6 separate regions of the Homo sapiens genome follow, and regions 2, 3, 4, 5 and 6 are each linked to region 1. Evidence: promoter capture Hi-C in 16 types of primary human blood cells and fetal thymus (Javierre and others, 2016). All regions are on one chromosome and are shown on one strand. Each heading gives the region's core, a stretch centred on a gene start or on the middle of the fragment in contact. The rest is flanking DNA. Distances are from core to core; before and after follow the strand shown.

Evidence for each region. The method cuts DNA at HindIII sites, captures the fragments that hold promoters and counts their contacts. A CHiCAGO score of 5 or more calls a contact.
Region 2: a contact is called between a fragment that was not itself captured here and the fragment with the promoter of ZNF548 in region 1, in 3 of 17 cell types (naive CD8 T cells, total CD4 T cells and neutrophils). The highest score is 8.2, in naive CD8 T cells.
Region 3: a fragment that was not itself captured here is called in contact with the fragment with the promoter of ZNF548 in region 1 in 2 of 17 cell types (total CD4 T cells and non-activated CD4 T cells); the score reaches 6.0 in total CD4 T cells.
Region 4: a contact is called between a fragment that was not itself captured here and the fragment with the promoter of ZNF548 in region 1, in 1 of 17 cell types (naive CD4 T cells). The highest score is 5.6, in naive CD4 T cells.
Region 5: a contact is called between the fragment with the promoter of ZNF835 here and the fragment with the promoter of ZNF548 in region 1, in 7 of 17 cell types (non-activated CD4 T cells, naive CD8 T cells, total CD8 T cells and 4 more). The highest score is 7.4, in non-activated CD4 T cells.
Region 6: a contact is called between the fragment with the promoter of ZNF256 here and the fragment with the promoter of ZNF548 in region 1, in 3 of 17 cell types (total B cells, total CD8 T cells and naive CD8 T cells). The highest score is 5.5, in total B cells.

The regions. Positions count from the first base shown.
Region 1 is chr19:57,387,461-57,392,358 of GRCh38, forward strand. It overlaps ZNF548 (zinc finger protein 548), which reads left to right and starts at 2,394. Exons shown (of 4, transcript NM_001172773.2): 1 at 2,394-2,654. The coding sequence starts at 2,640. RefSeq lists enhancers at 1,952-2,031, 2,172-2,651. The HindIII fragment of the contact is 17,908 bases long and covers 1,935-4,898 here.
Region 2 is chr19:58,128,064-58,132,823 of GRCh38, forward strand. It overlaps ZNF329 (zinc finger protein 329), which reads right to left. Exons shown (of 4, transcript NM_024620.4): 4 at 1-1,448. The coding sequence starts at 1,440. Among named protein-coding and RNA genes, the nearest start is that of ZNF329, 20 kb to the right of the region's middle. The HindIII fragment of the contact is 2,632 bases long and covers 1,486-4,117 here.
Region 3 is chr19:58,102,204-58,107,154 of GRCh38, forward strand. It overlaps a transcript of ZSCAN18 not described here. Among named protein-coding and RNA genes, the nearest start is that of ZSCAN18, 6.4 kb to the left of the region's middle. The HindIII fragment of the contact is 167 bases long and covers 1,578-1,744 here.
Region 4 is chr19:57,918,920-57,923,365 of GRCh38, forward strand. ZNF418 (zinc finger protein 418) reads right to left here. Exons shown (of 6, transcript NM_133460.3): 5 at 4,273-4,370; 6 at 2,963-3,710. Among named protein-coding and RNA genes, the nearest start is that of ZNF417, 4.6 kb to the left of the region's middle. The HindIII fragment of the contact is 881 bases long and covers 1,476-2,356 here.
Region 5 is chr19:56,670,470-56,674,915 of GRCh38, forward strand. ZNF835 (zinc finger protein 835) reads right to left here and starts at 1,288. Exons shown (of 2, transcript NM_001005850.3): 1 at 1,107-1,288. It overlaps LOC105372473 (a long non-coding RNA gene), which reads left to right and starts at 1,510. Exons shown (of 4, transcript XR_936110.4): 1 at 1,510-1,962. The HindIII fragment of the contact is 4,177 bases long and covers 1-1,382 here.
Region 6 is chr19:57,945,927-57,950,673 of GRCh38, forward strand. It overlaps ZNF256 (zinc finger protein 256), which reads right to left and starts at 1,780. Exons shown (of 3, transcript NM_005773.3): 1 at 1,516-1,780. The coding sequence starts at 1,548. RefSeq lists enhancers at 1,189-1,268, 1,759-1,858, 1,929-2,018. The HindIII fragment of the contact is 12,388 bases long and covers 1-4,747 here.

The DNA of each region.
Region 1 (4,898 bases), core at 1,144-3,643:
TCAATACAGGATTCAGGAAAAATCGTTATATATAGGTCATATTCTTAAACTGTGCCCAGGTCTTAATTAATAATTAGCAATGACACAGAGGGGACACTGCCATCAAAAGAAAAGATTAATGTTACAGTTCCCTGGAAATAAGAGGCACTGAACACCACACAGGCCACAAGAAACCTTATTACATACAGAGACTGGAAAGCAGAAAGAGAAAACAGAGTAACTGGAAGTATGTCTTTATAACTAAAGTGGCAGAGAATGATGAGGTAGAGATACCGTCGATGGGCAGGAAGGAAAAACACATTTTAGTGTTTGTGGTTGGGGGGTTTTATATGAGTTTCATGCACTTGAGTAAGTGGCTTGCAAGAAAAAAAGTAAACAACTTTGGTTCTATTAGTTTGACCCTGTGATTAATGAATATCAAACAGACAAATACAGAATCTAAGAAAACATAGAACAGTCCTGTATACACATAGCAGCTGGGAAACCTATTCCCAGTGTGTCCCATGCACCTATCATTGATCTGAAACCCAATACATATGTGCTCATTGAACATTTACTAGAGAAGTAAATACACATTATCACACAGCTTCTCTATTCATTTTTATCTGTGGCAAGTCTTTCAGTTTATCATCTGTACTTACCCCTCTAAGCAGTTAATGAGCAATGTTTTCAAGTGTGTAAAAAAATTACATTTTGGAAACAAAAGCATAGTGTGTCCAAGTGTCCAGCAGAGCCACAGGTTCAACTTCATTCTCTGACTTCTCAGAATTTGCTGTCTCTCACTCAAACATTGAGATCTTATCTTTTTCTCACATTACAGATCGATTTCTCTAGGGCTTCTGGTTTTTTTTCTTTTGGAATAACCTACATAATTACTAATAGATTTCGGTAATTTTTTTATTTCACAAGTGTTTTTCACATTTCGACTCCCTGTGCAAATACAGTTGTAAACACAGGTGAAATTTTAAATCACTTCTGAGGAAGAAGATAACATCATGGAATTCCACACCTTTTTTGAGGATAAGATGTGCATATGCTTCAACTATGAAAACGGTAGACAATGTTGTCCAGAAATGGCATGTATCAGCTGCTCTTGAGAAATAAAAATAAAATTCTAAGCACCCCCTAACTGACTGAATGGATGCCCTCTTGACCATGAGAACCCTAGAATAACTTTGGAAGCTGAATTCACCACTATAGAGGAACGGGAAATCAGACACACCTCATTATATCCCCTACCACACTACAATCATTAGGTTTTCTTCCCTAAGGGCTAAATAGAAATCAACCTTTTCAGAAGACTACTAGCTTATCTTCCAAGGTACAGAACAGAGAGAAGATGAGATTATTCATTCCTTCATCCTTCTCTGAGACATCTTCTTTATTCCCTTTTCCCCTCACGTGTTTACTCTATCTTATGTAAAATGTAGATTTACTGGGCACTAACTAAAGTTTCACATGTCTGTAATCATTTGTCTCACTGCCAACCCCTCTTCCTTTTTAAGGAAAATGTATAATAAATACTAAACCTCCTAAGAACCTCTTTGGAAAAACCAGCCACAGATGCTTCTGTGACTTACATTTTTCTGGATGTGCCCTTAGGCTGGTCCAGTAATCCTCCATGATTTGTGACTTATGCCTCAATCACTCATTTTGGTCGTCACTCTCATTTTCAGATAGGATTGTGATTCTTAAAATAAATGGAAAATATCTCAGATATGAAGTAGTAAGTATTATTAGAATAAAAGCGTTGCACCCTTCGTAGGAACACAATCGCTGACTCTACAGTCAGGTAAGATGTATTCTCTTTGATCCAGAGGCATAGCTTCACCCTTTCAACCTACTTCAGCGTCTCCTGTCATCCTTCCTACAAATTCCAGTCCATAGCCCTAACTGCGTAGTCTTTCTTTCTTCTTCTGGACCAAACATATTGAAGCTTACTAAACAGACGCCAAAGCGTAACTGTATGTGTATTTGAAAAGCAATAATATGGCTGGCAGGCATGAGTAGAGGCAGACTGCCTTTATGGTATGGGGTGTCTCTTTGGACCTGTAGTTATTGGGAATTAGCTGTGCTTAATAGAGTCTTAAGTAATAAGTTGCTAACATTTCTGTAAATATCCTATACTACAATCCAAAAAAATACCGTATGTTGCCTTTAAGAGCAAGCCAAGCCCCCTCCTGTCTTTGGAGTCGGGGACTCCGTTTCCCAGCTCCCCTGACAGTGCCACTGGGCCTTTATCTGCCATATAAGGACTGATCAACGCTCTAAGACAAGTCCGGAAGCGGTGTCGAAACTTCATAACCCAGAAGACACTGCAGCTCTCGGCGGCACGACTTACCCAATAAAGGCTTAGAAGGGGACGTTTGCGTGCGTGCGCACCGTCGGAGGGCGGGACTTCCGCCGTCCTCCTGGTGGTGGTCGTTTTGGTTCTGTGTGGTGTTTCACCAACTTCGGCCTATGGCTCTGTCTGACGTCACCGAAGTGACGGAACGGAAAAGCGCGAGAAGCGGCTCGGTTCCCACCACGGAGAGGCGGGAGTGAGTCAACTGACAAGCGCTGGGGACAGTGGCGTCCTTGTCTTGCCTTTGTCGCTCCCGCCCCGCTCTTCCCTGGCTGGGCTGGCGGAGGCCTTGCTGATGAACCTGACTGAGGTGGGTGTCCCGTCCCAGGCTCCCCCGCCCGACCGGTCCTCCCAGTGCTGAAGCCCCCTGAAGGGGCCCTGCAGGTCAGGCCCCTTGTCCCGAAGAGAGGGGCGTTCCTGTGTGGGGTCCCCGTATCAGCCGATTTGATGCAGCCTCAGAGCTCCCGTTAGGGACCTCAGGTTCAGAGCATGGAGGCGCTGCCGAGTGGGCTGTGTTGGGGCGTCAGGGGTGTGTGTTGTTTCTGCGGGAAAGAGAGGGTTTTGTGAATTCTCGCTTGGAATGGCAACCTGAGCAGCCAGTAACCATGGAAGGTTGTCAAGGGAGGGACAGTTGGAGGGGGCAGGTCCAGAGTTCGAAGTTTCAAGTTAGGAAAACCAGGTTAGGAATGGACACAGGGAGACGCGAAAAGGCCCTGAGGCCACTGCAGTAGACCCAGGAGAATTATGGTTGGGGCTGGACCAGTGACAGTAGAGGGAGATGTGATGAGATTCTTCATAGGCCTGAAAGATAGGGCCCGTAGGTTTTCCTGGTGCTTCAGTTATGTCTGAACAAAGGCAGTGAAGAACCGTTTCAAGTGTTTGTTTTGTTTTTTGTTTTCTGTTTGAACGTTTGGAAGAATGGAGTTGGGGAAGTCAGCATAAAGAGCAGATTTCCGGGAGAAGATCACAGGTTGGATTTTGGACATGGTGATTCTCAAATGTCTCAAGATGGATATGTCACACAGACAGGTGGACATAAAGGTGTGGAGTCTGAGGAAGGGGATTGGGTTGGCGATACCAGACGGATGGAGGGCTTGGACTGGGCCAGAGAATGGTCTGAGGATCAGATTGAGTAGGTCGGTCTCGGGTTTTTTTTGTTTGTTTGTTTGCATAAATTTAAGGAGTCAAGTGCAGTTTTGTTATATGGATATATTTGCATAGTGGTCAAGTCTGGGCTTTTAATGTATCCATCGCCTGAATAATGTACATTGTATCCATTAAGTAATTTTTCATCACTCATCTTCGTCTCATCCTTCTACCTGTTTGGAGTCTCCAATGTTTGTCATTCCACACTCTTTGTCCATGTGTACACATTATTCAGCTTCCACTTGTAAGTGAGAACATTTGGTATTTGACTTTCTGTTTCTGAGTTGTTTCATTTAATAATGGCCTCCAGTTCCATCCACATTGCTGTAAAAGACATAGTTTCATGCTTTTTTTTTTTTTTGTGGCCTAGTGGTATTACCTTGTGTATATATATGCCACATTTTCTTTACCCAGTCATACATTGATGGATAATTGGTTAATTCCCTATCTTTGCTATTGTGAATAGTGCTGTGATAAAAATACATGTTTTTTTTAATGTAATGATTTATTTTCCTTTGGGTAGATGCCCAGTAGTGGAATTGGTGGATTTAATGGCAGTTCTATTTTCAGTTATTTGAAAAATCTTCATACTGTTTTCCATTGAGGTTGTACTTATTTACATTCTCACCAACAGTGTGTAACCTTTTTCTCTTCTCCATATCCTGGGCAACATCAGTTGTTTTTTGACATTTAAATGATAGCCATTCTGACTGGTGTAAGGAGATACTGTGGTTTTAATTTGAATTTGTCTGATGATTAATGATGTTGAGCATTTTTTTATATGCCTGCTTGCGATTTATGTGTCTTCTTTTTGAAAAATGTCTGCCCTGTGCTTACTGTTTTTTTTTTTTTTTTTTTTTTGAAATGGAGTCTCGCTCCGTCGCCCAGGCTGGAGTGCAGTGGCGCGATCTCGGCTCACTGCAACCTCCACCTCCCAGGTTAGTTCAAGCAATTCTGCTGCCTCAGCCTCCCAAGTAGCTGGGATTACAGGTGCCCACCACCACGCCCAGCTAATTTTTTGTATTTTTAGTAGAGACGGGGTTTCACCATGTTGGCCAGGCTGGTCTTGAACTCCTGACCTCAGGTGATCCACCTGCCTCGGCCTCCCAAAGTGCTGGGATTACAGGTGTGAGCCACCGCGCCCAGCCCTGTGCTTACTGTTAATGAGATTTTTTGTTGTTGTTTTTTTGTTATGTTTTGTTTGTTTGTTGTTGAGTTCTTTGTAAATTCTGGATATTAGTACCCTGTCAGATGCATAGTTTGCAAATATTTCATCCCATTTTTCAGGTTGTACATTTACTTGGTTGATTAGTCCTTTTGCTATACAGAAGCTGTTTAGTTTAATTAGGTCCTGTCTACTTTTGTTTATGTTGTTTATGCTTTTGAAGTCTTATTCATGAATTTTTTT
Region 2 (4,760 bases), core at 1,552-4,051, 740 kb after region 1:
CTCCTTAGTGTGAATTCTCTGGTGCTTGGTCAGACAGGAGCTGTCCCTGAAGGCTTTGCCACACTGATTACACTCATAGGGCTTCTCACCAGTATGAGTCCTCTGGTGCCTAATGAGGCCAGCGATATTCCTGAAAAGTTTCTGACACTGGTTGCAGCCATAGGGCTTCTCGCCAGTATGAATCCTCTGATGCCTGATGAGGTACGCACTCTCGATGAAAGTCTTGCCACATTCTTTACATTCATAGGGTTTCTCCCCAGAATGGATCTTTTGATGCACAATGAGGTGAGAGTTTCTGTTGAAGGATTTCCCGCACTCTGCACACTCAAAGGGCTTTTCTCCAGTGTGAGTCCTCTCATGCTGGGTGAGGTACGAGCCGTCCCGGAAAGCCTTTCCACATTTGCTACACTCATAGGGCTTCTCACCGGTGTGGATTCTGAGATGCACTGTAAGGTGGGAGATGTCAGTGAAGGGTTTCCCACATTCGTTACATCTATATGGTTTTTCCCCTGTATGAGTTCTTTGGTGCAAAATTAAGGATGAATTTCGGTTGAAGGTTTTTCCACACTCTAGGCATTCATAAGGTTTCTCGCCTGTGTGAATTCTCTGGTGCTGTGTCAGAGCTGAGCCATCACTGAAAGCTTTCCCACATTTACTGCATTCATAGGGCTTCTCTCCTGTGTGGATTCTTTGATGCACAATCAGGTTGTAGTTCTTGGAGAAGGACTTTCCACACTCATTACAAGTATAAGGCTTCTCTCCGGTGTGAGTTCGGTGATGCAAAACAAGAGAAGAGTTCCGTTTGAAGCATTTGCCACATTCAGTACATCTATATTGTTTCTCTCCAGGGAGATTTCTCTGGTTTTCATTAAGCGATGAGCTCAGAGTAAAGATGTTCTCAAAATTCTTACCTTCATACGATTTCTTGCCTCTTTTCATTATTTTCTGATGACCAAGAGAGGTAAAATGATTAAAAGACTTAACACTTTCAGGGTATTTGTAGGGCTTCTCTCTCACTGGATTTCTTCCATGAATAACTTCCATGGAATGGTTGAAGCCTTTTCCACAGGCATCACTGTCACCAGTTCTCTTATCTGCATAACTTTTAGGATAGCTGGGTAAGGCGGGGTCACAATCCAGACCACTAACATTTGAGTCAGGTGCATGGAAACCATTTGTTGCCAGAACTCTCTGAGACGGTGGAAGGTCTGAGCTTGCAATCAAATGCTCCCCAAAACCAGGATATTCACAAATTGCTTCCTGAGTCCCTGGTTTCTCCAGAGTTAAAGCTGATTGCCTCAAGTGTCCCTCCTGGTTCTCACAGTCCCAACCATCACCTAAACTGGACAAGCAGGGAACTTCCCTTGTGAATCTTTCCACTTCTACATCACAGGGTACTTCTCTCTCAGGAAAATTCCGAGTCGTCATTTTCAATCTCATATCCCAAACTGCAAAAAGAAGAAAAATGCAGACTTAGGTATATGAAGCTTTATCTGTAAGAGAAACAGACAATGATGATGGGCTAGGTGTAAAGATGTGTATTTTTTTACTTGTTTTCTCTTTTAAATTCAAATTTATACAAGGAAGAGGTAAAATCGTAGCCAAGGAATGGAACCAAGAACAGATTCAAAAAGAGCCATGTAGCATTTTCATCTTCCTAGAGAGCAGGCAGGAGGAATGGACCTCGGGATAAATCATCACCAAAAGGATTAGTTTGAGATGTGAGAGACCAGAGGCCAAGCATCCCTGCTCCCCCTAGAATTCCATCCCAGCCACTGCATTCTTGTCCCTGTCACACACTGCCCATCAGTACACATTTCCAAAGCTCTGACTTCACAATGAGCTTACAACAGCACTGAAGGAACAGTTCTCACCCCAGCTCTGTCATCAAAGTTCTGCATTCATGGATAGGACAAAGCACAGGCTTGGTGACCTAAAAGTTCTGGGTCTAAGTCTTAGAACTGTCAATGACCTGGCGGGGCACAGTGGTTCACTCCTGTAATCCCAGCACTTTGGGAAGTGGAGGCAGGTGGATCATTTGAAGTCAGGAGTTCAAGACCAGCCTGACCAACATGGTGAAACACCGTCTCTACTAAAAATACAAAAAAAATCAGCCAGGCGTGGTGGCACATGCCTGTAGTCCCAGCTACTCTGGAGGCTGAGGCAGGAGAATCACTTCAACCTGGTAGGCAGAGGTTGCAGTGAGCTGAGATCACACCACTGCACTCCAGCCTACGCGGCAGAGTGAGACTCCATCTCAAAAAACAAAACAAAACAAAAACTGTCAAAGACTGCCCTGCATGGTTGTTATAAAAACTGGATCATGTCGGCCAGGCGCGGTGGTCACGCCTGTAATCCCAGCACTTTGGGAGGCCGAGGTGGGCAGATCACAAGGTCAGGAGATTGAGACCATCCTGGCTAACGTGGTGAAACCCCGTCTCTACTAAAAAAATACAAACAATTAGCCAGGCGTGGTGGCGGGCGCCTGTAGTCCCAGCTACTCGGGAGGCTGAGGCAGGAGAATGGCGCGAACCCGGGAGGCGGAGCTTGCAGTGAGCCAAGATCGTGCCACTGCACTCCAGCCTGGGCCACAGAGCAAGACTCCGTCTCAAAAAAAAAAAAAAAAAAAAACTGGATCATGTACAAAGCAGTCTCCAAGGCTAGGGGATGAAGGGCATTCTGTAAATGGTTGCATGTGTCTTCATGCATATCAATCTTCCTGTCACCATCCTTGTCCATTCAGACTTCACAATATTAAGACAACTGGTTGTCCATTCATTCGTTCATTCATTTGGTGGGATCGGGTCTCGCTCTGTCATTCAGGCTGAAGTGCAGTGGTGTGATCTTGGTTCACTGAAGCCTCAATCTCAAAAACTTCAAGCAATTATCCCACCTCAGCCTCCCAAAATGCTGCAAATACAGGGATGAGCCATTGTGCCCAGCCTTCTTTCTATTTTTTAAGGTAAAATGAAAATAGACCCTTGCCTCAGAATACATACATACATATATGTCTACATTCTAGGCAATTTAAATATATATACATGTATATGTGTATATGTGTGTGTGTGTGTGTGTGTGCGCGTGTATTTACATTTCAGAAGGATACAGGCTGCAACATAAAGTCAAAGTTTAAATAATGTAGTATGCCTTCATAAGTGTGGCAGACTTTGATCAACAAAACTTAACCAAAAAACCATATGGCCAAGCATTGGGGGTCATGCCTGTAATCCCAGCACTCTGGGAGGCTGAAGTGGGAGTTATCACTTGAGCCCACACAGAAGGCTGAGGCTGCAGTGAGCTGTAATTGTGCCACTGCATTCCAGATTGGGCAAAAGAGACCATGTCTTAAAAACAAAAAACAAAAACCAAAAAATAAAAAACAGACAAGGATTAAGAAGTCTGATATCAGCATTCAAATTTTCCATCCAATAAAAGACACAATAAGAGACAAAATGCAAGTGGCAGATAGGGAGAAAATAGGACTTAAAAGCACAAAGAATTATTGCCCAAGAGCTATAGAGGATTCTTACAGAGAGAAAATAAGATTTAAAAGCACAAAGAATTACTGCCCAAGAACTACAGAGGATTCTTACAGAACAGCACATAAAAAGAAAAAAAATGGGCAAAGTAATCAAAGAGCACTTCGTGAAGGGAAAATAGAAATGTCCTGAAAACATTGGCTGGGAGCAGTGGGTCACGCCTGTAATCCCAGCACTTTGGGAGGCTGAGGCAGGTGGACCACAAGGTCAGGAGATCGAGACCATCCTGGCTGACACGGTGAAACCCCGTCTCTATTAAAAATACAAAAAATTAGCCAGGCGTGGTGGCGGGCGCCTGTAGTCCCAGCTACTTGGGAGGCTGAGGCAGGAGAATGGCATGAACCCGGGAGGCAGAGCTTGCAGTGAGCCGCGATAGCGCCACTGCACTCCAGCCTGGGCAACAGGGCGAGACTCTGCCTCAAAAAAAAAAAAAAAAGAAAGAAAAAAAAGAAATGTCCTGAAAACATCAATATTTATTTTCTCATTCTATCATTCAGGCAATTCCAAACTGCGACTTTAAGAACACAAAATATACACATTTCACGTGAGTAAAAATAAAATGAAGTACAATAATATAAAGCTTTGGTAGGTCACAAGGGAAGAGGGCTTGGAAAGTGGTCAGCGTGCTTGGCAGGGTACCTTAGTGGCAGCTGTGAAAACATAAACTGGGGGCAGGCGCGGTGGCTCACGCCTATAATTCCAGCAGTTTGGGAGGCTGAGGTGGGTGGATCACCTGAGCTCAGGAGTTCGAGACCAGCCTGACTAACATGGTGAAACCCCACCTCCACTAAAAATACAAAAATTAAGCCAGGCACAGTGGCTCACGCCTGTAATCCCAGCACTTTGGGAGGCTGAGGCAGGTGGATCACCTAAGGTCAGGAGTTCAAGACCAGCCTGGGCAACTATGTCTCTACTAAAAATACAAAAATTAGCTGGACGCGGTGGCGCATGCATGTAATCCCAGCTACTCGGGAGGCTGAGGTAGGAGAATCGCTTGAGCCTAGGAGGCAGAGGTTGCAGTGAGACAAGATTATACCATTGCACTCCAGCCTGGGGGACAGAGCGAGACTCCGTCTGAAAAAAAAAAAAAAAAAAGAAAACATAAATTAGGTATATTCTACCACCCAGCAGTTCCACTGGTAGGTATCTCAGAGTCAGAAAGCTGGATAAACGAACATCAATCCATACCTACGTAGATAGATGGTCTTTTTCTTTTTTCTT
Region 3 (4,951 bases), core at 411-2,910, 710 kb after region 1:
ATCCCAGCAATTTGGGAGGCCGAGGTGGGCTGCTCACGAGGTCAGGAGATTGAGACCATCCTGGCTAACACGGTGAAACCCTGTCTCTACCAAGAAAATACAAAAAAATTAGCCGGGCATGGTGGCGGGCGCCTGTAGTCCCAGCTACTAGGGAGGCTGAGGCAGGAGAATGGTGTGAACCCGGGAGGCAGAGCTTGCAGAGAGCCAAGATCACGCAACTGCACTCCAGCCTGGGCGACAGAGCAAGACTCCATCTCAAAACAAACAAACAAACAAACAAACAAACAAACCATATACTCTTCTGTGCTGTTTGGCTTCCCCCCACATTATGAACTTTAAAAATCTTGCAATAAAATAACAATTATGGCTGACACAGGCTATAAGAAAGAAGGCAGGTAACAATGATTATTCAGCAAGGTAGGAAGGACTACAATGGCACACAGACTTGCCATTTTGTACTGCATCGGATATGTCAATGTTAATTGTCATCTCAGCAACAAGATTTTTTCCTTGAGAGTTGTATTTCTCCTCAAATGGACTCTCACTAGTCATTCAATTCCTCCTTCTGATATTACTCTTATTTCATTGATTCCAAGATAACAGATGGTAACATGTACATTTTATGTGCTAATAAAAGGCTGCCTGAGGCCTAGCACAGTGCCTCACACCTGTAATCTCAGCACTTTGGGAGGCCGAGGTGGGTGGACCACCTGAGGTCAGGAGTTCAAGACCAGCCTGGCAAAACCTCGTCTCTACTACAATACAGAAATTAGCTGGGTGTGGTGGTGTGCACCTCTAATCTCAGCTACTTGGGAGGCCGAGGCAGCAGAATCGCTTGAACCTGGCAGGTGGAGGCTACAGTGAGCCAAGATAGCACCACTGTACTCCAGCCTGGGTGACACAGCGAGACTCTCTCTAAAAAAAAATAAAAAAATAAAAAAAGGCTGCCAATTAAACCATATCACTGATTAACCTGGTTTGTTTTCAGATGTTAAAATATGGCAAGATATGTATCACAGAATAAAGGAAATACGGTAAGTCTTTAGGTTCTGTGTCACGACTAACTTCCAGATATAGGCATTACCTTGTTTTCTTGCACTTTGCTTAATTATCCTATGCAGATATTGCATTTTTTACAAGTTGAAGGTTTGTGGCAACCTGTGTCAATTAAGTCTATTGTCACCATTTATCAAACAGCATATGCTCTCTGTGTCTCTGTGTCACATTTTGGTAATTCTCACAATACTTCAAACTATTGCATTATTATTATCTGTTATGGTGATCTGTGATCAGTAATTTTTGTTGTAACTATTGTAATTGTTCTGGAGTGAAAGGAACCACGCCTATATAAGACAATGAACTCAGCAGATAAATGTTGTGTGTCCTGATTCCTCCACCAACCTGCCATTGCTCGCTGGTACGCACTCTCTCTCAATCTCTTTCCTCAGGCCTCCCTATTCCCTGAGACAAAACAATATTGAACTTAGGCCAGTTAATAACCCTACAATGGCCACTAAGTGTTCAAGTGAAAGGCAGAGTCAGACCTCTAACTTCAAATCAAAAGCTAGAAATGATTAAGCTTAGTAAGGAAGGCGTGTCAAAGACAGGCCAAAACTTAGCCCTCTTGTGCCAAACAGCCAAATTGTGATGGCCAAGAGAAAAACTTGAGGGAAATGAAAAGTGTGACTCCAGTGAATATGTGAATGACAAGAAACTGAAACAGCCTTGTCGCCAATAGGGAGAAAGCTTTAATGGTCTGGATAGGAGATCAAACTACCCAAAGAGAACTAACATTCTCTTAAGCCAAAGCCTAATCCAGAGCAAGGTCCTGACTCTCTTCATTTCTATGAAGGCTGTGAGAGGCGAGGAAGATGCAGAAGAAAATTCTGAGCCGGCCAGGCACAGTGGCTCATGCCTGTAATCCCAACACTTTGGGAGGCCAAGCGGGATGGATCACCTGAGGTCAGCAGTTCAAGACCAGCTTAGCCAACATGGTGAAACCCCACCTCTACTAAAAATACAAAAATTAGCTGGGCATGGTGGCGTGCGCCTGTAGTCCCAGCTACTCAGGAGTCTGAGGCAGGAGAATTGCTTGAACCTGGGAGGCGAAGGTTGCAGTGAGCTGAGATCGTGCCACTGCACTCCAGCCTGGGCAACAGAGTGAGGCTGTCTCAAAAACAAAACAAAACAAAACAAAACAAAAAAAAAGTCTGGGCCGGGTGTGGTGGCTCATGCCTGTAATACCAGCACTTTGGGAGGCAGAGATGGGCAGATCACCTGAGGTCAGGAGTTTGAGAACAGCTTGGTCAACGTGGCGAAACCCCATCTCTGCTAAAAATACAAAAAAAATTAGCCAGGCATGGTGGCAAGTGCCTGTAATCCCTGCTACTCAAGAGGCTGAGGCATGAGAATTGCTTGAACCCAGGTGGCAGAGGTTGGCAGTGAGCCGAGATCATGCCACTGCACACTAGCCTAGGCAAAAGAGTGAGACTCCATCTCAATAAAATAAAATAAAATAAAATAAAATAAAATAAAATAAAATAAAAAAGTCTGAAGCTAGCAGAGGTTGGTTCATGAAGTTTAAGTCATCTCCGTAACATAAAAGTGCAAGGTGAAGCAGCAAGTGCTAATGCAGAAGCTGCAGCAAGTTCTCCAGATTTAGCTAAGATCACTGAGGAAGGTCGCTACAGTAGACAACAGTTTAAATGTAAAGAAAACAGCCTTCTGTTGGAAGAAATGCCAGGTAGTGTTTTCACAACTAGAAAGAAGTCAGTGCCTAGCTTCAAAGCTTTAAAGAACAGGCCGACTCTTGTTAAGGGCTAATGCAACTGGTGACTTTAAGTTGAAACCAAAGCTCATTTACCATTCTGAAAACCCTAGGGCCTTAAGATTTAAGTTAAATCTACTCTGAGTGCTGTCTATAAATGTAAACAAAGCCTGGATGACAGTACGTGTTTACAGTATGGTGTACTGAATATTTTAAACCCACTGTTGAGAGACTTCCTCCTGAGAAAAAAAGATTCAAATTATGGCTGCTCACTGACAAGAGCTCTGATGAAGACATAGAAGGAAATTAATGTTGTTCTCGCAACTGCCAACACAACGTGTATTCTGCAGCCCATGGACCAAGGAGTAATAATTTTGCCTTTCCAGTCTTCTTATTTAAGAATGCAGTTTAGCTGGCCCAGGCGCAGTGGCCTGTAATCCCAGCACTTTGGGAGGCTGAGACAGGTGGATCACGAGGTCAGGAGATCGAGACCATCCTGGCTAACACAGTGAAACCCAGTCTCTACTAAAAATACAAAAAATTAGCCGGGCGTGGTGGCGGGTGCCTGTAGTCCCAGCTACTCGGGAGGCTGAGGCAGGAGAATGGCATGAACCCGGAAGGCAGAGCTTGCAGTGAGCAGAGATCGCACCACTGCACTCCAGCCTGGGCAACAGAGTGAGACTCCGTCTCAAAAAAATAAAAAATAAAAAAGAAGAATGCAGTTTGCAGCTATGCGTGGTGGCTCATGCCTGTATTCCCAGCACTTTGGGAGGTTGAAGCAGGTGGATTACTTGAGCTTAGGAGTTTAAGACTAGCCTGGCCAACATGGTGAAACCCTATCTCTACTAAAAATAAAAAATTAGCCGGCCATAGTGGTACATGCCTGTAGTCCCAGCTACTCAAGAGGCTGAGGCATCAGGATCGCCTGAACCCAGGTGGCAGAGGCTGCAGTGAGCTGAGATCGCGCCACTGCACTCTAGCCGAGGCAACAGAGTGAGAATCCTTATCAAAAAAGAAAAAAAAAGGTATGTATTTTGTAAGGCTATAGCTGCCATAGATAGTAATGATTCCTTGGATGGATCCAGGGAAAGTAAATTAAAAACCTTCTGGAAATGATTCACTATGCTAGATGCCATTAAGAGCATTCTAGGCCAGGCACAATGGCTCACACCTGTAATACTAGCACTTTGTCAGGATGAGGCAAGAGGATCACTTCGGCACAGGAGTTCAAGACCAGCTTGAGCAATATGGTGAGATGCCGTCTCTACAAAACATAAAAAAAATTAGCCAGGCGTGGTGGTGCATGCTGGTAGTTCCAGCTATGTAGGAGGCTAAGGTGAGAGGACAACTTGAGCCTAGAGGTCGAGGCTGCAGCGAGCCATGGTTGCAGCACTGCACTCCAACCTGGGCAACAGAATGAGACCATGTCTCAAAAGAAAAAAAGACATCTGGCTGGGCGCGGTGGCTCACGCCTGTAATCCCAGCACTTTGGGAGGCCGAGGCGGGCGGATCACGAGGTCAGGAGATCGAGACCATCCCGGCTAAAACGGTGAAACCCCGTCTCTACTAAAAATACAAAAAAAATTAGCCGGGCGTAGTGGCGGGCGCCTGTAGTCCCAGCTACTTGGGAGGCTGAGGCAGGAGAATGGCGTGAACCCGGGAGGCGGAGCTTGCAGTGAGCCGAGATCCCGCCACTGCACTCCAGCCTGGGCGACAGAGCGAGACTCCGTCTCAAAAAAAAAAAAAAAAAAAAAAAAAGAAAGAAAGAAAAAAAGACATCTGTTTTTTTTGTTTTTTTGTTTTTTTTTGAAATGGAGCCTCCTTCTGTTTCCCAGGCTGCAGTGCAGTGGCTCGATCTCTGCTCACTGCAACCTCTGCCTCCCAGCTTCAGGCAATTCTCCTGCCTCAGTCTCCTGAGTAGCTGGGATTACAGGTGTGCACCATCACGCCTGGCTAATTTTTTTTTGTATTTTTAGTAGAGATGAGGTTTCAGCATGTTGGTCAGGCTTGTCTCGAAATCCTGACCTCGTGATCTGCCCACCTTGGCCTCCCAAAGTGCTGGGATTACAGGCGTGAGCCACCGTGCCTGGCCAAGACATCTGTTCTTGAATAATGAGACTGGAAAGTCAAAATTACTCCTGATCTATGATGGGCTGCAGAATACATGTTGTGTTAGCAGGTGTG
Region 4 (4,446 bases), core at 666-3,165, 530 kb after region 1:
TATGTTCTTAGCTCCCACAATTTAGCCTAAATATTTGCCCTGGCATGTTTACACTGGTCCAAGCAAGCATTGTCATAGCCTGTTCCTCTTATTTGAAGGTGTTTTTGCCTTTCTTAGCATTCCATAAGTTAATTCCTCCTTCGTTTTCCTCTTGCCTTTGCCTCTTTTAAAAATGTTCTAAGTTGCTAGTCAATCAGGACAAATACAGAATGTGAATTTGTATTTAGCCAGTGGAAACCGGACACAGCAGTAAGGTGGATGCGTCAGGCAGGTTATAAATGACCCTGTCTCCTTTGTTCAGTGTAATCTCACAGCAAAACTGCTGGCGAGTATACCGTTTCTGCAGAAAGTAAAAATGGCCTTGCTGAGGAAATTAAATTTATGTTCAATGCTATTTCTTTCTTTCTTTTTTTTTTTTTGAGACGGAGTTTCGCTCTTGTTGCCCAGGCTGGAGAGCAATGGCGCGATCTTGGCTCACCACAACCTCCGTCTCCCAGGTTCAAGTGATTCTCCTGCCTCAGCCTCCTGAGTAGTTAGGATTATAGGCATGCGCCACCATGCCCAGCTAATTTTGTATTTTTAGTAGAGATGGGGTCTCTCCATCTTGGTCAGGCTGGTCTTGAACTCCCGACCTCAGGTGATCCTCCCACCTCGGCCTCCCAAAGTGCTGGGATTATAGGCATGAGCCACCGCGCCCGGCCAAGTCAAGTGCTATTTCTTTACGGCACTAAAGAACAAGCATTTCAAACAGTACTTAAAGTTGGTGCTCTCCATCTGTTCATACTGGGCATTTGTAAAAGCCATGAGTTCATGTCATTGATGGGAAGTGATTATCATTGATTTGAGAGGAGGGAGTGTTCTGCATGAAAAATTAATATTACATAAGAGAAACAGTTGTAAATTGCAAGATACAAAAGCCTATTAATACTGACTAGGTAGGCTGGGCGTGGTGGCTCACGCCTGTAATCCCAGCACTTTGGGAGGCCGAGGTGGGCAGATCACAAGGTCAGGAGATCGAGACCATCCTGGCTAAGACGGTGAAACCCCGTCTCTACTAAAAATACAAAAAATTAGCCAGGCCTGGTGGCAGGTGCCTGTAGTCCCAGCTACAGGGGAGGCTGAGGCAAGAGAAACGCGTGAATCCAGGAGACGGAGCTTGGAGTGAGCGGAGATCACGCCACTGCACTCCAGCCTAGGCATCTCAAAAAAAAAATTAGCCAGGCGTGGTAGCAAGTGCCTGTAGTCCCAGCTACTTGGGAGGCTGAGACAGAAGAACTGCTTGAACCCGGGAGGCAGAGGTTGTAGTGAGCCTAGATCGTGCAATTGCACTACAGCCTGGGCGACAGAGCGAGACTCCGTCTCTCTCCCGCTCCCCCAAAAATATAAAAAGCAAAAAACAAGAAAACATTGACTAGGTAATTATTAAACAGTTTTGACAGAAGTGGGTCTATGGAAACATCAGTAGATGGTGAAAAAGCTTAGGACCTCAGAGAAATGTTAGCACCAATGTCCAAGAGATTAAATTATGCTCAGCACATAATTGGAATGGTCAGTCTGATGGTTTTGGCTTTAAAATGAGATTCTTCTTCTTCTTTTTTTTTTTTTTGAGGCAGAGTCTCACTCTGTCACCCAGGCTGGAGTGCAGTGGTGCGATCTCAGCTCACTGCAACCTCCGCCTCCCGGGTTCAAGCGATTCTCCTACCGGGTGTGGTGGCTCATGCCTGTAATTCTAGCACTTTGGGGGGCTGAGGCGGGTGGCTCGCCTGAGGTCAGGAGTTCAAGACCAGCCTGGCCAACATGGTGAAACCCTGTCTCTACTAAAAATACAAAAATTAGCTGGGTATGGTTATGGTGGCGCACACCTGTAATCCCAGCTACTTGGGAGGTTGAGGCAAGAGAATCACTTGAACCCAGGAGTCAGAGGTTGCAGTGAGCAGAGGTTGCACCACTGCACTCCAGCCTGGGTGACAGAGTGAGACTATGTCTCAAAAAAATAAATAAATACATAAAAAGATGCCTCAGCCTCCAGAGTAGATGGGATTACAGACATCCACCACCACGCCCAGCAAATTTTTGGATTTTTAGAAGAGACGAGGTTTCACCATGTTGGCAAGGCTGGTATCGAACTCCTGACCTCAGGCGATCCACCTGCCTCGGCCTACCAAATGCTGGGATTACAGGCGTTAGCCACCATGCTTGGTCGATCCCTTTTGAATTAAGTTGGTTCATACAATCCTCCATCCAACCTCATGGCATGATAGGTAATTTTCTCACAACGGAATACTTGTTTTCTGAAAGGAGTTGTTTATAGGTTAAGCAAAACCAATTTAAGAGCTTTCAGCAAAGTAATATGAAAAGCTTCTGTTAATTTCGCCAGGTGAGAGACAGGGTCTTACTCTGCTGTCTAGGATAGAGTGCAATGGGGCAATCATGGCCCACTGTAACCTCAAATCCCTGGGCTCAAATGATCCTCCCACCTCAGTCTCCCACACAGCTAGGACTATAGGCATTTGCCACCATGCCCAGCTGTTTTGGTAGAGACAGGGTTGTGCTGTGTTGCCCGGCTGGTCTCTATCATGCTTGATCCCTACCCTGTTGACTTCAACAAGGATGGCACCATGTCCAAGAACTGAATGAGAGCCAGAGCTAGAAAATGAGACATAGAGCTAGGCGTGTGGCTCACGCCTGTAATCCCAGCACTTTGGGAGGCCAAGGCAGGCGGATCACCTGAGGTTGGGAGTTCGAGACCACCGTGATCAAAACGCAGAAACCCCGTCTCTACTAAAAATACAAAATTAGCCGGGTGTAGTGGCACATGCCTGTAATCCCTGCTACTTGGGAGGCTGAGGCAGGAGAATCGCTTGAACCGGGAGGTGGAGGTTGCAGTGAGCCGAGATCACGCCACTGCACTCCAGCCTGGGCAACAGGAGCGAAACTCCATCTCAAAAAAGAAAGAAAGAAAGAAAATGAGACATAGGGTTTATTGAGGACTTAGATACAGGGCAGTCCAGGAGCGGCAGGCTGGACAAAAAAACCACTATCATTTGAAAGAAGCATGCAGTTTATATAGTATTTTCACTTATCACCCTCCGCCTAGCTCAAAACAAAGGGCCTCATTCCAAGGAACAGGCCAGGGGTTCAGAAACCTCCAGGTTGGCCACTCCTGGATTTCTTCGTTTGGAACGCTGAACCAACACTCTTCTTAGACCACAGGGTCATTCTTAGGGTGTGCTTGAGTTACTGCTGTCAGATATATCTGTTATACAGTGTCGAACTCCTGGCCTCCAGGATGTTCTTGCCTTAGTCTCCCAAAACACTGGAATTAAAGGCATGAGTCCCTGTACATGACGAGATGGGCTTTTATTAACCTCTTTGTTAGTTTCATCAATCGAGAAGAGAGGGGAGGGTATGCAAAATAAAAATGTTAGAAAATGGGCCACACTTTACAAATTGAGATTATGTCTCCAGTTAAATGAGTTCCCCTATTGCTGTGTAATTCACAAGAAATTCTCCAAGAGGGAGTTACCAATTCAACACATATTTACCCATGACTTCCACGGTGGCTCTTCTGTAAGGAAATGCTTGAACCCAAAGAGAGAACATGCAGATCATAATCAGTTCATATTTATAATCTTGGGCTGGAGGCAAATGCATACAGTTTACCAAATATGAAAAGGTGAGGTGGGCAAAGGGAAATGCCCTTGAGATCCCTGAAAAGAAAGAAAATTCAGTTATACATTTGATACTTAAATATATGGGACACCACTTTGTTAAATTGCAAGAAAAAAACCAAAAGCATGCCAGGCACAGTGGCTCATCCTGTAATCTTAGCATTTTGAGAGGCCAAGGTGGGAAGATCCCTTGAGCTCAGGAGTTTTGAGAGCAGCCTGGGCAACATAGTGAGACCTAATCTCTACAGAAAAATTTTAAAAATTAGCTGTGCGTGGTGGCACATGCCTGTCCCTAGCAACTTGGGAGGCTGAGGTGGGAGGATGACTTGAGTCCAGCAGGTCAAGGCTGCAGTGAATTGTGATTGTGTCACTGTACTCCAGCCTGGGCAACAGAGTGACACTGTCTCAAAAAAAAAAAAAAAAAAAGGGCCAGGCACTATGGCTCATGCCTGAAATCCCAGCACTTTGGGAGGCCGAGGCGGGCAGATCATCACAAGGTCAGGACTTCAAGACCAGCCTGAACAACATGGTAAAACCCCATCTCCACTAAAAATACAAAAATTAACCGGGCATGGTGGTGCATGCCTGTAATCCCACCTACCCGGGAGGCTGAGGCAGGAGAATCGCTTGAACCCTGGAGGTGGAGGCTGCAGTGAGCTGAGATCGTGCCACTCCAGCCTGGGCAGACAGACGGACATTCTGTCTCAAAAACAAAAAAAATTAAGAAAGAATCAAAAGCAACTTTCTAATTCATTGCAGACGGGAGTATTTTTCT
Region 5 (4,446 bases), core at 38-2,537, 720 kb before region 1:
TGGGAAGCCATCACCTGCAGCCACACTCACACATGCACACAGGGTCCCGGGCACACGTAGCTACACACACACCCAGCCCCACACGTAGCTCCCTGTGTGAAGAGGTGCACAGAGACGCACAAGGTCACACATGCCACCTGCTCCACACAGGCCGGCCATTACTGGGACACACCCACAGGGGATGGCTGGACACATGTGCAGTCACACTCGGTGGATAGAGCTCCAGCATAGCCAAAGCCCACATGTGCAGCGTCTCCATCATGTGCAGATGCACACACTTCAGACAGCACGGCACTCTACAGGCTCGCACAGCCAGGTCACCCATCATTGTGCTGGCAGGCACACGGGCCGAGCCAGCCTACACGGCGGCACACCCAGACATGCACACGTGGGGTCACACACCTCACATCCAGGAGAACTTTCAGACTTGCCCAAAGGCAGCCACACGTGTATGTGACATGCTGTGATATGCAGACACCGCTTCACATGAACGAGCACATAACACACCGATAAAGTGTTACATGCCTTTACCTGCAGTCACCTGCCTGGGCTGGCACCACTGAGTGAGCAGGTGCAGACACAGTGACACTCGGGGACGGGCTCACAGGCAGTCACACACCTGCAAGGCCTGGCACCGCCGAGTGAGCAGGTACAGACACAGTGATGGGCTGGCACCGCCAAGTGAGCAGGGGCAGACGCTGTGACACTCAGGGACGGGCTCACAGGCAGTCACACACCTGCACCTGCTGGTACCGTCGAGTGAGCAGGTGCAGACGCTGTGACACTCAGGGACAGGCTCACAGCCAGTCACACACCTGCACGGCCTGGCACCGCCAAGTGAGCAGGTACAGACACAGTGACGGGCTGGCACCGCCGAGTAAGCAGGTGCAGATGCAGTGACAGGCTCACAGGCAGTCACACACCTGCACCTGCTGGTACCGTCGAGTGACCAGGTGCAGACGCTGTGTTACTCAGGGACGGGCTCACAGGCAGTCACACACCTATACGGGCTGACACCGCTAAGTGAACAGGTGCAGACACAATGGCACTCGGGGACGGGCTCACACGCGGTCACACACCTGCAGGAACACGCGCACACTACACACCGTTGCTCTCGCCTCCCGGTATCACCTTCGAACGCGCTGGCCGGCCCCCTCCTAGCCTGGTGCAGTCGGCTCCGCTTCTACTCAGTCTCGGGTCCTCCTGGGCCAACGCAGACCCTGGTGCCTCCTTCCTTAGACGAGCTAAGGTCAAGACTTCTGCTGCTGCGGAGGAGCCCGCGCACCAGGCCGGGGTGGACTGCGCCTGCGCATCGGGCCCGCCTGGTTCTTAGGAACTACGACTCCCAGGGGGCGCTGCGCGCTCGCCGGCACCGCGACTAAAGCTTGCAAAGCCTGGGTCATCGAAACTACAACTCCCAGAAGGCTAAGCGTCTGCACACGCTAGGTCCGCAGGGCGCTGACCCCTGGGGGCCCGAGGAGCGCCGGGCTGCTGCCCCGAGCCCCGCCCACTACAGCCTCAGTGCATGGCGGTGGGCGCTTCCAGTAACTCAGGGGTGGGACTTTTTTCTTGCTCAGGGGATGAGGCCGAGCCCACAGGCTTAGAAAGAAGGAACTTGAGTCCGGGCACCTGTCATCCCAGCGCTTAGGGAGGCCGAGGCGGGTGGATCACCTGAGGTCAGGAGTTCGAGACCAGCCTGGCCAATATGGCGAAACCCCCGTCTCTACTAAAAATACAAAAATTAGCCGAGCATGGTGGCATGCACTTCCAGCTACTTGGAAGGCTGAGGCGGGAGAATGGCTTGAACCTGGGAGGCGAGGGTTGCAGTGAGCTGAGATCGCACCACTGCACTCCAGCCTGGGTGACAGAGCGAGACTTCGTCTCAAAAAAAAAGAAGAAGAAAGAAGGAAGCTGAGGTTCAGACAGGCTAAGTCCCTACTGCAGGCTGCGGAATCTAAAAAGGTAGGTGCCAGGGTTTGCAACCCACACTTTTATTTTGGTCTCAGGTAGCTGATGTCATTCCAGTCTATGGCAAAGAAGGTGGCAAATCCATTAACATAGATGAAGAATTTCATTTTACTTTTTAGTTTTATTTATTTATTTATTTTTATTATGTATCATGCTTTTAATACAAACTTTAAAAAATCTGGAACAATAGAAACTGTACAGATTTGATCAATCTTTTTGTTTTGTTTTTAAACTAAAATCTCTAAACACACCAATGTCCTATTCCAAAATATTGCACAACATTCTGAATACAAAACCCTTGATTGTATTCCTCCTTCACTGAAGAAAAAACTTCATGACCCTGCTCCCCGGGCTCCTCTCCAGGCTTGCGTCAATGCCCCCTTCCCATCCCTAGGGAGAAAACTAGAGAATCTATAACTCACTGCATTGAGAAAAAGACATCATTCTGGACTAACAGTTTCCATTCTTCAGAAGATAATCCACCTTTTGATTTGTTCCTGGGAAACAGGGATAGATAGAGGATGGGGAAAGGGGAGAAAAGGTTTTATTTCTCCTCTTTTTTTTTTAAAGTTTGTTTTTCCTGAAAAAATATGTTTCTCTCATCTTTTTAAGAAAAAATCTTGAAAAGAAAAAAATTGTTTTTACGTTAGAAATATACATATATTATATATACCTCTTACATTTTACAAATGTAGCAAATTATTCAATACAAACGGACACCAAAAAATGTAAAAAATAAAAAAAAGTTTTCCTAAGAACCAGGTAAATTAGTGCAGATTTCTGTTTTTGTTTTCTTAAAAAAAATAAAATTGAAGCAAAAGTGCCTAGATTTGAGACAAGACAGACTGAACTGGGCCCAAGAGCCCAGCACTGGAGTCATGCTCCTGAACACACATTTTTCTTCGTATTTCAAAAGACACAAAGGGGTTGGTCTCCCCCCCTCTCCCTACATGTGAGAAACAAGCAGACCTGGTGTGGGTGGGTGCCTGTGTGTGTGGATGGGAGGAGGGATAGAAGGGGATGTAAGGCAGCATCCAACCTTTCCCAGAGAGAAGCTATCTGCTGGGCCTGTCACCTGTGTGGGAGCCGAGGATGAGGGAAAGGGTGGCCCAGACTGGGCTGGCCCCTGAGAAGTCTAGGGGAACAGATGGTGCTGGGCTGAGAAGCCAGGACATTGCCTGCCGGGGGAGGTAGAGCTGGTGCCTACTGCAGGGAGAGGAGGCTGGCAGTGCCGGCCTGGGCTGGACCCACTGCCATAGCAGTTGCCTACTTGGGGTCCCTGGGTAGGATGGAGTGGGTGGGGTGCCAGGGGCTTTGGTGCTTTCTGGTGATGGGACCCTGATGCCAAGTGCCCACTTTGCAAAGATGAAAAAGTTCATGACCCTGCTCCCTTGGCTCCTGTCCATGCTTGCCTGGCCTCCTGGGGTTGGAGGAACAAGCTCTCTCCTGGCAGAGGCAGGAGAGAGTTTTATTTTTTAGAAACAGTTTCGCTTTGTTGCACAGGCTGGAGTGCAGTGGTACAATCACGGCTCACTGCATCCTCGACCTCCCCAACTCTAGTGATCCTCCCATCTTAGCCTCCTGAGTAGCTGAGATTGCAGGCATGTGCCACCACACTGGCTAACTTTTTTTTAACTTTTATTTTTTGTAGAGATGAGGTGTCGCTATGTTGCCCTGGCTAGTCTTGAACTCCAATCCTTCCACCTCGGCCTTAAATAATTTTAATAGTTGACATGCACATGGCATTTACTATTGGCCGGCATTATTTTAAGGTGCCTGCTCTGAAGGAATTCTGTTAGCCTTCCTAAATTATTCCCTTGGCCATTGGAAACATAGGCATGAGATCATTTTTAGATAATTGGAAAAGCAGAGAAATCTGTGAAGATAGAATGGGAAAAAAAATGCATTTCACTAAACCAACATGCCATTGATTGTGAGATTCCACATTACTTTATGTAGCCCCACGGCTGCCCTTAAACCATGACACATGCTTTATTTACAGTTCATATTTTACTTATTCGTAGACCTCAAGAGGCATTCTGTGCTTCCCTCTTCCTTCTGGAAGCTTCATGAGAAGGGACATTTTCCTCAAAGGATGGACAACAGAAACAACTCAAATATTCATTTCCTTTAAATATGGTTTTTAAGACAATTTTCTTTAGAAAGCCACATTTACCTGTTGGGGGTTGATTTATGCTCACCCCCCTCCCAAATATATGTTGGAATGCTAACCCCCTATTCCTCAGAATGTGACTTTATTTGGAGACAGGTTCTTTACAGAGGTAATAAAGTTAAAATGAGTAAATAGGGTGGGCCATAACCCAAAATGACAGCTGTCCTTATAAAAAGGGTGCATTTGCACGCAGAGACACGCATAGAGAGAACATGATATGTAGAGGCACAGGGAGAAGGCCGCCATCTGCAAACCAGGGAGAGAGGCCTGGAGCAAATTCTTCTTCATGGCTCTTAGAAGGAACC
Region 6 (4,747 bases), core at 530-3,029, 560 kb after region 1:
CTTCCAGCCTGAATGAAACACCCAGGCCCCATCAAGTTATCACAAAATCCTGGATACCCATAAAGTGGTGAATAAGCACGAGTTTTGGCCTGAGTGTCCTATGCGTTTGCATCCATCTCATGTCCATTCTTCTCTTGGGAGCCGTGGCCACTGCCAAACTACACTGTCTTTTACATACCTTGCCTTCATGACCACTTACTCTATCATCATCCTCCCAGTCTTGGCCCACTAACAGCTTTACAACCAAAACCTGGAGCTTGCCCCGCCTAACTGTGACCCACAGCTCACTAACCTTGGTGCGCACAACAGCCACATCTTGAATATCTGCACCCTGAACCACTCCCTAGATTTCAAGACCGGCACGTTCATCTGCCCACTTAACGCCTCCATTTAGTAGGCTCTGAAAGATCTGACTCTTAGCATGGCATAAACAAACCTGATATCCCTAGTGAATATTACTCCTATTGCCAATTTGTTCATCTTAGTTGATGAAACTTCTTTCCCTACAGCTGCTAATACCAAAAACCCTGGAGTCTTCTCTGAACCCTCTGTTTCACTCCCTCACCACCTACATTATGTAATTTAGTTGTCCCTTTTGAAACCACACATCCGGAATCTAACCACATCTCCTAAATCACGATCCTGGGCCAGTAACCCTCACTTGGACTAGTCTACCCTGATTTTCCTTCCTCCTCCCTCAACCCCCCAGTTTGTGCCCCACTGTGCACACAGATGAAGCCTGTGAAGACCTTGGTAAATTACCTCTTTTTTCTGATTCAAACTTGCTATTACCTCCTGAAAACACACTCAACTTCTCAGGCAGCCACTGCAGTCCTGACGCCTATCCTCCTGTTCTTTGCTTCCCACCAGAAAGCAAGGAGACTTGTGGCTTCATAAATGCACCCAGCTCCGTACTGCACCTAAGCATTTGCACATCTTGTACCTTTCTGGAAAAACTTTCCACACCCGTTCACATGGCTGCCAGAAATTGGAACAACTCTATATACCGGCTAACATGGACATAGGACCCTGGGCTTGGGGTTCACCCAAGGTCTTCAGAACTAAGGGCTGGGGGAATGGCACTCCACAACCCAGAGAACCTGTGGGTGGGAGTTAGGGCTAGTGAGAGACTGGGAAACCCTCCCCTTCCTGGCGTAGATTTCATAACCCTTTACAGCCAAGGGAAACGTAGAAAGAGCCAGGCCTCAGAGAAGAGCATCTATGGCGGTATTAGATGGGCTCAAGCCACCCCGTAGCCCCATGCCTGGCCTTGGAGCCGGGTGCCCTCGCAATGGCTGTGTCACCTCTGTGCCCCAGGGCTCAGTGGCGCCTCTCATCAGGGGCTCCTTGCCAGTCGCGCCCTCCCTTCCCTAGCACACCAGGTGTTGGAAACGGGAGCCCCTCCGGCGAGCCCCCGTGTCCTGTCCTGGGCAGCAGGGCCGCGAGCAAGCGCCCTCGGGGGTGCTAGGACTAGCGTGGGGAGGGCGGGGAAGGCCCAGAGGACGCGGCACATACCTGGGCCGGGGCCGTCAGCTCGGCCGCCGCCATCTGACTCTGTGAGCGGAGCGGGGCCAGAGAGGATGTCCTTATTCCGGGCCGGGCCTGGGTACCCTGGGCGCCGCCGAGCCTCAGCCACGCCTCTGTGCAGCGGGGAAGACTCCTCTCGCGCCTTCTCAGTCAGTCACGGATGATGCTGACCCAGCGCTCCGGGGCTTTCTACCAAGTAATCAGTCCAGACAAATGCCAAAACGACCGCCACAAGGAGGACAACGGAAGTCCCGCCGCGACCGCGCGTGCGCTTACGGAAACACCACCTTTCGGAGGCCTCATTGGCTGAAGGTCGCCGTCGCCCAACGCAGGCCATTCTGGGTAATGTTCCCACAGGCGCACGGCGGGAGAGTGAGGGTCGCCTCCACCTCCTTCCGGAAGTAAAGGCCAAACCCCTGTAGGGGGCGCTGGGAAATGGACACTCCAGGTTGGGGCGGAGGCGAGGCTTCGTTCTTTCTTAAAGGAGACGTACCCAGGTTTCTACCGATTGCTGTCTGCCAGTGTTTGTTTGGAGACGTGTCATTTCATGTGTTCCCAGAGGCACATATCCAGATGCACATATTATTACATACAGTCAGTCAGTCACAAAATATATCCACTGGTTGAGAAAGCAAATAAATATGACTATGTTGCGGCCGGGCGCGGTGGCTCACGCCTGTAATTCCAGCACTTTGGGAGGTCGAGGCGGGCGGATCACGAGGTCAGGAGATCGAGACCATCCTGGCTAACTCAGCGAAACCCCGTCTCTAAAATACAAAAAATACCACAAAAAAAAAAAAAAAAAGAAAAATTAGCTGGGTGTGGTGGCGGGCGCCTGTAGTCCCCAGCTACTCCGGAGGCTGAGGCAGGAAAATAGCTTGAACCCGGGAGGCAGAGCTTGCAGTGAGCCGAGATCGCGCCACTGCACTCCAGCCTGGGGGAAAGAGCGAGCCACTGTCTCAAAAAAAAAAAAAAAAAAAAAAAAAAAAAAAGACTATGTTGCAATTCAAACGCATGCACTCAAGCACTGGAGTCAGTTTTCTCAGTCTCTGTATGTTTGATTAGGGACAAGAAAAAAAACACTCCACACAGGTTCATGACAAAGAGGATGAAGGTGGGATGCGGAGGCACCCTGCAGCAGCAGGACATAAGTAGATCCCTGTCTCTGGGTCCCTCTCGTGCCTGTGTAGTCAAACATTGTGTCCAATTCACTAAGCAACACTTGCATGAATCTAATCTCACTTTCTCCATGCCTTTATATTCACTTCTTTTTAATAATTTGACATCAAGCTCAGAAAGAGAACAACAAAAGGAATGGTATTTTGAAAAGGCATGATGGCTAGCTAGAGCATTAACAGGTGGAACAAAGGGTGCTCTGAATCCCAAATGTAGGGTGTATCTTAAATTCAAGATCTCTTCTCAACGCTGAAATGATTATCTTTGCCCCCATTAGTTACGCTCTTGTTGCCCAGGCTGGAGTGCAATGGTGCGATCTCGGCTCACCACAACCTCTGTCTCCCGGGTTCAAGCGATTCTCCTGCCTCAGCTTCCCAAGTAGCTGGAATTACAGGCGCCCGCCACCGTACCCGGCTAATCTTTTTTTTTTTTTTTTTTTTTTGTATTTGTATTTTTAGTAGAGACGGAGTTTCGCCATATTGGCCAGGCTGGTCTCGAACTCCTGACCTCAGGTGATCCACCCACCTCGGCCTCCCAAAGTGCTGGGATTACAGGCGTGAGCCACTGTGCCCGGCCCTTTGCCCCCATTATTATAGGGCTGTTCTGCATAAAAAATTGATACGATATCAGAAAAAGAATTGTAAAATACAAATTACAGAAAGCTACTAATAATGGGTGTCGCTTCGCCAGCCAGAAACCTCTGTGGTCGCGCCTCTGCTTGAGTTTTGCTCACACCCGCTGGGCTTGTTCCACCCACTCGGCCCAGCAGGCTGCACCTGGATCCCACACCTACCAAGGGCGAGCCAGGCGCGGAGCCGCAAGGGGTGTGTGAGCGAGCAAGTGAAGGGTCCAGCCAGTGCACACAGCCAGGCACGCTGGCTGCTGCGGCGGGGCGGGCAGCTCCAGGCGCTGGCACAGGCGCCGGCTCCTTGCAAGTCTGCGACTGGACCAGACATACTGCAGGCGGCTTCTGCTGCAGGCACCAGCATCTAGACGAGGGAAAAATGGTGGCGCCGGAAAGCTCGGAGACACCAAGAACAGCAGAACCCCAAAGAGGGTGTTGCAGCATGTCACAGCCCTGGCTCCGGAGTCTCGAGGCCTGGGCTCCCGGAAGAGCCACAGCTCTTCTCTCCTTCCCGTTGCTTGCAGCCTGGCAAGCGGGGAGGTGTGTTTTGGGTGGGGTGTGTTTTCAGCTTGTTTGTGATATAGCTCTTTCAGTCCCGCTGCCCTGCTCTGGCTCGCTGCTGCTTCCCATCGTGGGGGGCGGCCACCCAGTGCTGGCTGAGGGCAGGAGGGCTATAGTGTTACAGCTCTGGCTCGGGGAATCCCAAAGTCTGGGCCTCCAGAAGAGTCGCCATTTTTCACTCATGCAGCCCAGAAGCATGGCTACTCAGCCAGGAATGTGTTACAGCCCCTTTCTCTCCTGCTGTTCGTTAGGTCCCAAGTTCTTGTCCCCCAAGTTCTTATCCCACGTCCAGGAAGAATGAGGTTATGCAGACAACTGGAGGGTGAGCAAGGCAGAGAAGGGTTTTATTGGACAACCCAACAGCCCTCAGGAAACCTGAAGGGAGTAGCTCACACCTGCATACAGATAGTCTCCGATGTCTGAGTCTGGCTGAGTCTACAGGTTTTTTATGGGCTCAGAATGGAGAAAGTGTGTGCTCATTGGTCCATGGGTGGTAGGAAGTGCATGCTGATTGGCCCATGGGCAGTCATGGGCGGGCCTGGGAAAAACACCATACCATTGGCCGAAAGGCGTCAAGGAATTTCTCTCTCTGGGTCACAGACTCCACCTGGAACTGGCAGCGTGGCCTCCAGGCTTCAGGCCATTCGTGGCTTGAAGGTGGGGTTTCACAGAAAACCCACCCCTTCCCACGTAGGAACCTGTCTGCCTTTCATGGCCATCAACATGCTGTCCATGACGCCCAGGCTGTCCATGCTGAAGGTTGCCCGCAGGCCTGCCCCGAGCCACTCTCAGCCGCCCCCCTCCCACCACCCGGCCTCCTTCCCATGCTTCTTGGTGCCCAAAGTTTCAGCCTCAAAA